Linked DNA regions of Homo sapiens: region 1 is linked to region 2. The links are contacts of gene promoters, found by promoter capture Hi-C in human tissues and cell types (Jung and others, 2019). All regions are on one chromosome and are shown on one strand. The core of a region is centred on a gene start or on the middle of the fragment in contact, and the rest is flanking DNA. Distances in the headings are between cores, read along the strand shown. Region 1 has its middle 130 kb from the start of MIR4689. Region 2 holds the start of AJAP1 (adherens junctions associated protein 1).

Region 1 (4,188 bases), core at 224-2,723, 1.1 Mb after region 2:
CCAGGCAGTGGCTGGAGCATCCAGCGGCAGGATGGGGGGTGTTCCACCCTCCCTCCCTTCCCTGGTTCCTGCTCCACAAGGCCGTGTGGTCCTCAGAGCTGAGGGAGAGCAAGGCCTGAGAGTTGGGGAGACTTAGGGAGTGCACAAACCCTGCCCTGAGTGTGGCCACCCTGGACTTGATCATCTGTGCTGGGCAACAACCAAAAGAGCGTAAGCAGAGTGGGACTTGAACGCTTTGCCCTGCAGATTACCCTGCCCTCCCCTACTCCTAGGGCCTCAGGCCAGGCTGCATCCTGGAAATGTGAGAGAAAAAGGAGCAGGCTGCTTTCTGAGGCCAAGCGCTGAATTCTCAGCGCCCAGGATGGGGTCCCTAGCCAGCCAGGCATGGCGGGGCCTCCCTGCAGTCTGTCAGCATCTGGGGTGTCAGGGCTATCAGGAAAAAACCCAGCAGAGGCAGCTGCAGGAGCAAGGGGCAGGGGAACACAGAGACTGTCTGCTGGGGGCTCCTGAGCCTGGCCGTGGCTGCGTGCCGGCCTCCTGGCCTGCAGCAAGGCTCCAGGTGAGCAGAAAATTGAGATTGGCTGCCACTGCGCAGCTGCCCACCACGGGTCCAGCCCAAAGCCTTTGACACCCCAAGCAGCATTGGTGCAGCATCCTCAGCCTCGTCACTATTGATATCTCGGGCGGGACAAATCTCTTTCGTGTCAGGTGGCCGGGGTGGGCCACCTGTGCATGGTAGAATGTTTAACAACATCTCTCACCCCTAACCCCGAAGCCTACCCCTTGTAACAACCAAAATGTCTCCAAGTATTGCCAGATGTCCCCCGGGGTGATGGGGCAAAATATGGTGCTTAGGGTGTGAGAGGCTTTGGGCTGGACCTGTGGTGGGCAGCTGCGCAGTGGCAGTCAATCTCACTTTTCTGCTCACCTGCAGCCTTGCTGCAGGCCAGGAGGCCGGCACGCAGCCATGGCCAGGCTCAGGAGCCCCCAGCAGACAGTCTCTGTGTTCCCCTGCCCCTTGCTCCTGCAGCTGCCTCTGCTGAGTTTTTTCCTGGTAGCTACGACACCCCAGATGCTGACACCGCATATTCTCACTCATAGGTGGAATTGAACAATGCGAACACATGGACACAGGAAGGGGAACATCACACTCTGGGGACTGTTGTGGGGTGGGGGGAGGGGGGAGGGATAGCTTTAGGAGATATACCTAATGCTAAATGACGAGTTAATGGGTGCAGCACACCAGCATGGCACATGTATACATATGTAACTAATCTGCACATTGTGCACATATACCCTAAAACTTAAAGTATAATAATAATAAAATTAAAAAAAAGAACCACTGGATTCAGGAGAGGAGAGTTAAAGTCTTCTTTTCAAAGTAGAAAATAATTAATGGTCTTTCACTCATTCCACAAATATTTATTAGGCAATTGTGTTTTGCTAGGCACTGAGGACACAGTGTTCACAGTCTGGTGTTCATGTACAGCAGACAAGGTACTCACATGTACCTAGATGTTTACTTCCTTTCATTCTTGCTCCAAATATATTCATTATCTTCCTAAATAGGAAGTATGGCCCTTAGGAAGCAGCATGCCATCTCCTCCTGGAAGTCTTCCCAAGCCCCAAGGTGGGGGGCCAAATGCCTCTCTGTGTACCCCAGAAGCTGTTTCTAGCTGCCCTCTCTCTGCAAGACCCTGAATCTTCATTCTAACTCCCCCTCCCAAACTGTCTCCTCCTGCAGGGCACTTAAACCTATGCTAACTCTCCCCGCTCTCTCCTTAACTTTGCTGCCTGGATAAGCCATTAGCCTTATATGGAAATGTAACTTCTAAGAACTCAACTGCATAGGATCGGGGCTGCAGAGTGGGGAAAATAATAGCAATCTCTGTATTAGCTTCCCTCACAGCCGTGACTCCTGTCCAAACTAGACGTTGTCCAGTGTGAAGGACACTTCAGCAGGGAAGCCACAGCTGGAATACACAGAGGAATGAAAGAGGAGATCCTCAGGCCCTGCACTTCCAAGGGCCCACATCGAGATCTGGCAGCAAGTTCAGAGTGATTTTTAGTATGCAATTTTTTTTTAACCTATGTAGACCTTAGAAGCTAAACCCACCCACGTCTTGCCACGAGGCTCTTCAGATCCCAGGCACTCGGCAAGGTGCCCAGCACATCATAGGTGCTCTGCAAAGGTTCATGGAGCTGAAATGAGCTGAAGCTGATACTATTGCTTTGTTACTTCTATGTTCATTCTAATTTCATAGAGAAAGCGCAGGCACCATGATCTGCACTGAATGGCTCCCTGCCTAAGGGAAGCTATTGTTTGCACAATGTCCTCAGCCAGGAAGCACAGCTCAGGTGGCAGCAGTTCCCCAGACTGCAAGTGTGGCACCAGAAGGCTGACAAAATGCTCCTGGCATTGCCGGCCTGCAACCCCAGCCCCTAAGGACACGGACCCGATCACCAAGAACGCACAAACTCTGATGAGGACAAGTGTCTCTCCGAGTCCCTACCTGGCAGCAGCGCCTGCAAAGCAACCCCTGTCACCCTCCAGAGGAGGCTCGTGGGAGCCCATCAGCCGTGTCGGGACCTTGGGACCCTCCACTCAGACACCTGTTCTAAGAGCTTCCCCCGAGAGGGGCCGAGGGAGGGTACTACACGCAAGGCCAATATGTCAATGAAGTACCCTGTGCTGTTCATTAAAACCTGAAAATGAAGCTTGGGAATTTCATTAACAATCCAAGTGCAAAGAAGAGAGGTTTTTGGGGATATTTTTAACACATCTATAATCTTTCATTAACAGCTAGAAATTTAGATTGCTGTACATAAGTGATAGACAATGAAACAGAAAAGGGATTTCTGAGAGTCTCTCGGCTGTCAGCATTGTGAGCAGCTGGGAGGGTCACTCCGTAGTCATCTGTCACACCTCCCTGGAGAAGGCCTTGTGAGCCAGGGGCACCTCAGGAGGCCAGGGTGCAGCACCAGAAGCAGGGGCCCTGGCTCACCAGGGCTAGAAGGAGCAGCCAGCCCCAAACAAGCAGCAGGGTTTACAAAAGGACAATAAATTGATGGAATCGCCCAAGTCTGCAAAGCCCTGCTCCTCCCCCCGCCTCCCCATCCCCACCCCTGGATGGGCAAGGGGGTGGGGCAGGGACTAGAGGGGGTAATGGAGGAGGTAATGGAGTGGCCTTCTGGGGTGGACACCACTATTGTGTCCCCTCCTACAGACAAAGGAAGAAGCTCAGCAGGGCTGAGTCACTTGCTCCTGAGACACAGTCTTCTGGGTCTCTGGTGGTTCTGCTCATCTTGGATATAGCCATCTATAGTGTTTGCTCCGGACTATCTTTCCAGGAATGTTTGAATAGTGAACAACCTTGGAAGATAGAGGCTCTCTCCCTCCAGGGCAGAGGCAGGCTTGTTTGGACTCCAGTGTAATAAAGATAATGTCCCCCTCAAGGGCAAAGGCCAGGCAGGTGTGCTTGTAGTCCACTCAGCAAGACAGGGTTCCCTCAGATGGGGTCCTTGGCTGGGACACAGACCCCCTACATATGCAGCATCCACCTGGGCCTCTCAGTATCACAGCCATGGGGTTTAGAGGCAGAGGGGATCCATGAGGACCATGAAACTTGGGCTGCCTGCTGGGTGGCAAGTAACAACAACAGCTGTCTCTGCCCCAGGAATTTCATGTCTTCTGCCAGCATCAAGGGAAGGGTGGCAGGCTCACCTGTTAGCTTGAAAATAGGGTGAAATCACAGACAGTCCACAATTATTGGTGCTTGCCCAAGCCCACACAGTCACAATGGCAGGCTAGGATTCAATCTCAATGGACTCCAGCACCACATGTTTCCCAGGCTGTGATCAGGGGACCATCTGCATCAGAAGGAACTGCTGGGCTCCTCCACTGACCTACAGAGTCACATCTTCAGAGAGAGACATGGGGTCTACGCTCCCATCAAGTCCCCATCTCAGTCCAGAAGCATCCCCAAGTCTGAAAGGCTCACCCTCCACGGCAATGCCCCATTCTCTAGTGTGCACAAGTCACAGACATCTGGGCTTGAAGAGCTCCTGGCCAGCCTGGGGGTTGGTGAAGCATGCAGGACAGACAAGAGAGCCAAGAAAAGATGGCAGATCAAGGCAGGCCCACACTGCTTAAAGTGTGGAGTTTCCTGGGCCCAGACTCTAGGAACT
Region 2 (4,048 bases), core at 1,091-3,590:
TTGGCATTTCCTTTCATTATCAATGTCGGTGGCAGAGCTCAGTGCCTGTGACCGTCAAACATAGAAAGCACTGGCATTTCCATATCACACTGCCATGGCTGCAGTTACCTCAGGATATTATTGCTGCATATCTGGACTTCAAAAGGAACGTAATTTAGGATCTGTCAATTGCTTACTAAGTGTATTAATAAATAATATATACGGCTATATCAGAAATTTGTTTTTATTACTCTTTTGATAATGCATTTGCATAGAATTGGTTTCCTAATAATCCTGGGCTTTTTCATCTATGCACTTAGAAGCCATTCTGAGAGAGGTCAGCAGGTGTCCACAAGGCTGCCCAAGGGGTTCCTGGAGCCGACACGGTCCGGTCCGGAGCCCCTCCCTGCCCTGCTGGCTCCTAGTGTGCGAAGCCGGCCCCTTCCAGGCCCACTCCGGTTGCAGGAAGGGCCTCCCTGGTGCAGCACCGCCTCCTCACACCGCTAGGTGGCAGCACTGCCGGCGCCTCCTTCCCCGCCGGCCGCCATAGGCCCCGCTGGTTCCAGGACCTCCCTGCCTCCTTCGCCTCTTAATGGGATCCGCTCCCTCACACCCCTCAGGGAGAGGCTCTAGGGGACGATGACCCAGGGGCGGCCCGGCAGGGAAACTGCTGAGTCACCCTGCTGCCTCTCGGGTCCTCTGACCGGCTCACAGATCACCATAGCCACAGTGTGTGTAAGGCCTTCTCATGGAGCCCTGCAAACACCTCCCCGGGGAGGGGCTGTGGGACCCATCTTACAGATGAGGAGACCGAGGGTCGGAGAGGCCACACAACTCGGCCAGGACCCCGAGTTAGCAAGCGCTGGCCCCTGGTCCAGCCACGGCAAGGCTGGCCCTCCTGCCACCACACTTCCCTGCCTCTGGCCCTCTGCCGGGAGTCTTGGTGGGGAAGTCACTGTCTTCATCCTCCTGCCCGGGCAGAGTCCAATCCTGTGCCTGGCTCCTCAAGACCGTTGGCAAAGATCCTGGAGGCCTGGGGGTGAAAGGGCTGCTTGGGGGACTTAAGCCCCAAGCTATGGTTCGCCTGGGAGACTGAGCCCCAAGCCATGGTCCTCCTGGCTCTGCCCTTCCACCCCCTCACTGGCTGCCCCTCCCAGGGAGGCCTCACCTGTGAAGTGCTTCCCGCCCCTCTCACCCCCCACGGCTCTCACATGGCCTGGGGCGATTCCAGAGCTGGCCTGGGTCAAGCACCTGCACAGAGCACAGAGCGAAGGCTCGGCATGGTATATCCCCCGCCCCTTGCACCTTTCCCCAGTGAAGGGTGGCACCAGTGTCCTTTCCAAGGCCCGGATTCTGCACTGCCCTCAGCCTGTGGAGGATTAAAAGCAGGGTTTTGCCGTGGTTTCTCAAGGCGTCAGCGGGTCTGCAGAGGATTCCGCCCCATGTCACTTCTCTCAGTGAAAGGTCCCCGCCCAGCGTCTGTCCTCCTTTAAGTGCCCCCCATTTGTTTTTTGTTGTTGTTTTTGTTTGTTTTTTGCAAATACAGACTAACCAGGTAGGCACAGAGGAGTCCTGGCATGGGAAGGGAGCAGTGAAACGCCGGTGGAGAGTCCGGGAGGCCCAGATTCCCTGGAACTTTCCAGTGACTCCTCCGGAGCAAGGGCCTGGCCAGGCAGCAGCTGCGCTGGGCGATGAGGGACCGTTGGGTAATTGGGGGCATAGGACCGGGCTTCGCTGGGTTCGGGGCAGAAGCGCCGAAGCTCCGACCCGGAACGCGGTGACTTCATCAACGCAGAAGCCCGCGCAGCCGAGCAGAGGAGTCCCTCGTAGGCGACCCTCGGACAGACGCTCCTGCGCGGCCCGCGTGGCTCAGCTCCGCCCCAGGAAACTTTTCGCGCAGCCCCCGCTCCATGCGCCCCCACCCAGTCCTTCTTCGGGGCCGCCCCCTCCCCAAAGTAGCTCTCCGGGTCCACTGGGCGCCCCCGTAACCGGGTCGGAACCTCGAACGGCTTCGCGTGCCATCCGGTTACCCTGGCAACACCATCCGGCGGCGCCCGGCGGTCCAATCCTAGCCTGCGGCCTCTCTCGAGCCTTTCGCAAGGTGGGGACCGGGACGCGACCGGGGATGGGGAAGGGGGCTGCAGGAGGCCCCGCCTGCGCTGTCGCCCCTGCTGGGCACAGCGCCCCCCACCACCCGCGGCGACCCCGGCCCCCGCAAGGTGGGGCGGCGAGCAGGAGCCGGGGCCAGGCCAGGGGCTCGAGCTCCCGTTCGAGGGGCGGGGAAGGCGGGTGACGTGAGCCGGGCCGGGCGGGCGGAGTTGGGACCGGCTCCGGGAGGCGGGGGCGAGCGCGCGGAGAGGCAGACGCGAGGAGGGAGGCGGCTGAGCAGCGCGGGCGGCTCTGCGGCGGGCGCGGTGGGCGCGGGCGGCGGGGCCCCGGGATCCCCGCGCGCCTCCTCCGCGCGGCGCCGCCGCCGCGCGTCCCCACGCCCCGCGCTCCACGGCGCCCTCGCCCCGCGCGCCTCTCGTGCCCGCCTCCTGCCAGTCTCCGGGCCGCGGCCGTCTGCAGAGCGAGCGCTCAGACGGAGCCCCCGGGCAACTTGAGTGGCGCCGATCGGCGGCGGAGCCTCTGGCAGAGCCCCCCGACCCGGCAGCGCGGAGGGGACTCGCGTCCGTCCGCGTCGCGTCACCCCAAACCCTAAGCAGCGCCGCCCCATCGGCGCGGAGCTCCGGCTGGAGGCAAGAGCCGCGCGCCGGGAGACACGCACCGTGAGCGGCAGCGCCGCCGGCCTCCCTCCTCGCCGCCCCGGAGGGCGAAGCCGCGGCTCCCCAGCCCTTTGCTGCGCCGCGACAGCGCCGGAACACGCCCCGCCTCGCTGCCGCCTTCGCTGTGCCGCCGGCGGAGGGGGCCGCGAGCCCCGCGCCCCGGCCGGAGGATGTGCGCCCCCGCGGGCCGCCCAGCCTGAGCCATGCGCCCCAACGGCGGCGGCGCGCCGGCCGGCATGGAGCCCCGCGCGGCCGCGCTCTGACTCGCTGTGCGCCCCGCGGCCGGCGGGCGGCGGGAGGCGGCGGACCGAGAGCCGGAGACCGGCGCCGCGGGACGGAAGCGAGCGGGCGCGGGCGCCGCGCAGATGGCCTGGGCGAGCCAGGTCTGAGGCCCCGCTCCCCGAAACGTGACCATGTGGATTCAACAGCTTTTAGGACTCAGGTGAGCGACCCGGCCGGCGCCGGGTGCGTGTGGGCGCGTGGGTGCCAGGCTGGGCGGAAGCGGCGCTTTCCTCTATGTTGCAAATCAAGGGACCCCTCTTCGCTTCCCGCAAGCGGGCAACGGGGTGCACCGGTAGCCGGAAAGGGGCGCCCGCCCGGAGCCTGGAGCAGCACCGCGGCCCTGGCGGGGAGCGGCCGGGTCTCCAGGGTTCCGCGCGTCCGGGGTCGGGGCAGCGGCGCCCGCCCCAGCAACCCGGGAAGTGGGGCCGGCCAGGCGCGCCCGCAGCTCTAGGAGCCAGCAGCGCAGTGTCCTGGCCGGCTGCCCCGGCGCGCCTCCTCCCCGGGGCCCGGGGCGAGGCGCCGGCCGCTGGGCGCGGCGGGCGCGGGGGCCGGGGCTGCCGGGGAAAGCTAAAGCTCCGGGCTCCCAGCGAGAGCTTCGCAGGCGGAGTTGGAGGAAACCACAGCCAAACAGCCACTCCGCTCCCCCTTCTCCTTTCTCGGGGCCCCGGGGCTGAGCAGGGGCCTCCCAGGCTCCCAGCTGCCGACCCAGCTGTTTGCGGGTGACCTCCGGGCCCGACGGGCGCTCACAGCTGGCGGGCAGCTGGGGCGGGAGAGCTGGGGTTCTTGGGGAGCTCCGGCGGCCACCCCGCTGTAAACACACACGCACATACGCCCGCCGGCGCGCCCGGGGCTTGTCTGTGTCTGGGACTCCAGGGCCAGATGGAAGAGGGGGTTCGAGCCTAGAGCCCGTGGTGGGGGTGTCCAGAAAGACCCTTCTCGGCAAACTTTGCCAGCCCGCCGGGGTTCTCGGGCTTCTCTGGCTTCTGCCTGGGGTGGCCCAGGGCCCACCAGAGCACAGCTGT

Evidence for each region. Contacts are between HindIII fragments. The study calls those that stand out against the background at their distance.
Region 1: a contact is called between a fragment that was not itself captured here and the fragment with the promoter of AJAP1 in region 2, in 1 of the 25 tissues and cell types used here (dorsolateral prefrontal cortex).

What each region holds. Positions count from the first base shown.
Region 1 is chr1:5,725,910-5,730,097 of GRCh38, forward strand. No RefSeq gene overlaps it. Among named protein-coding and RNA genes, the nearest start is that of MIR4689, 130 kb to the right of the region's middle. The HindIII fragment of the contact is 4,911 bases long and covers 1-3,929 here.
Region 2 is chr1:4,652,269-4,656,316 of GRCh38, forward strand. It overlaps AJAP1 (adherens junctions associated protein 1), which reads left to right and starts at 2,341. Exons shown (of 6, transcript NM_018836.4): 1 at 2,341-3,186. The coding sequence starts at 3,158. RefSeq lists an enhancer at 332-381. The HindIII fragment of the contact is 14,001 bases long and covers 1-4,048 here.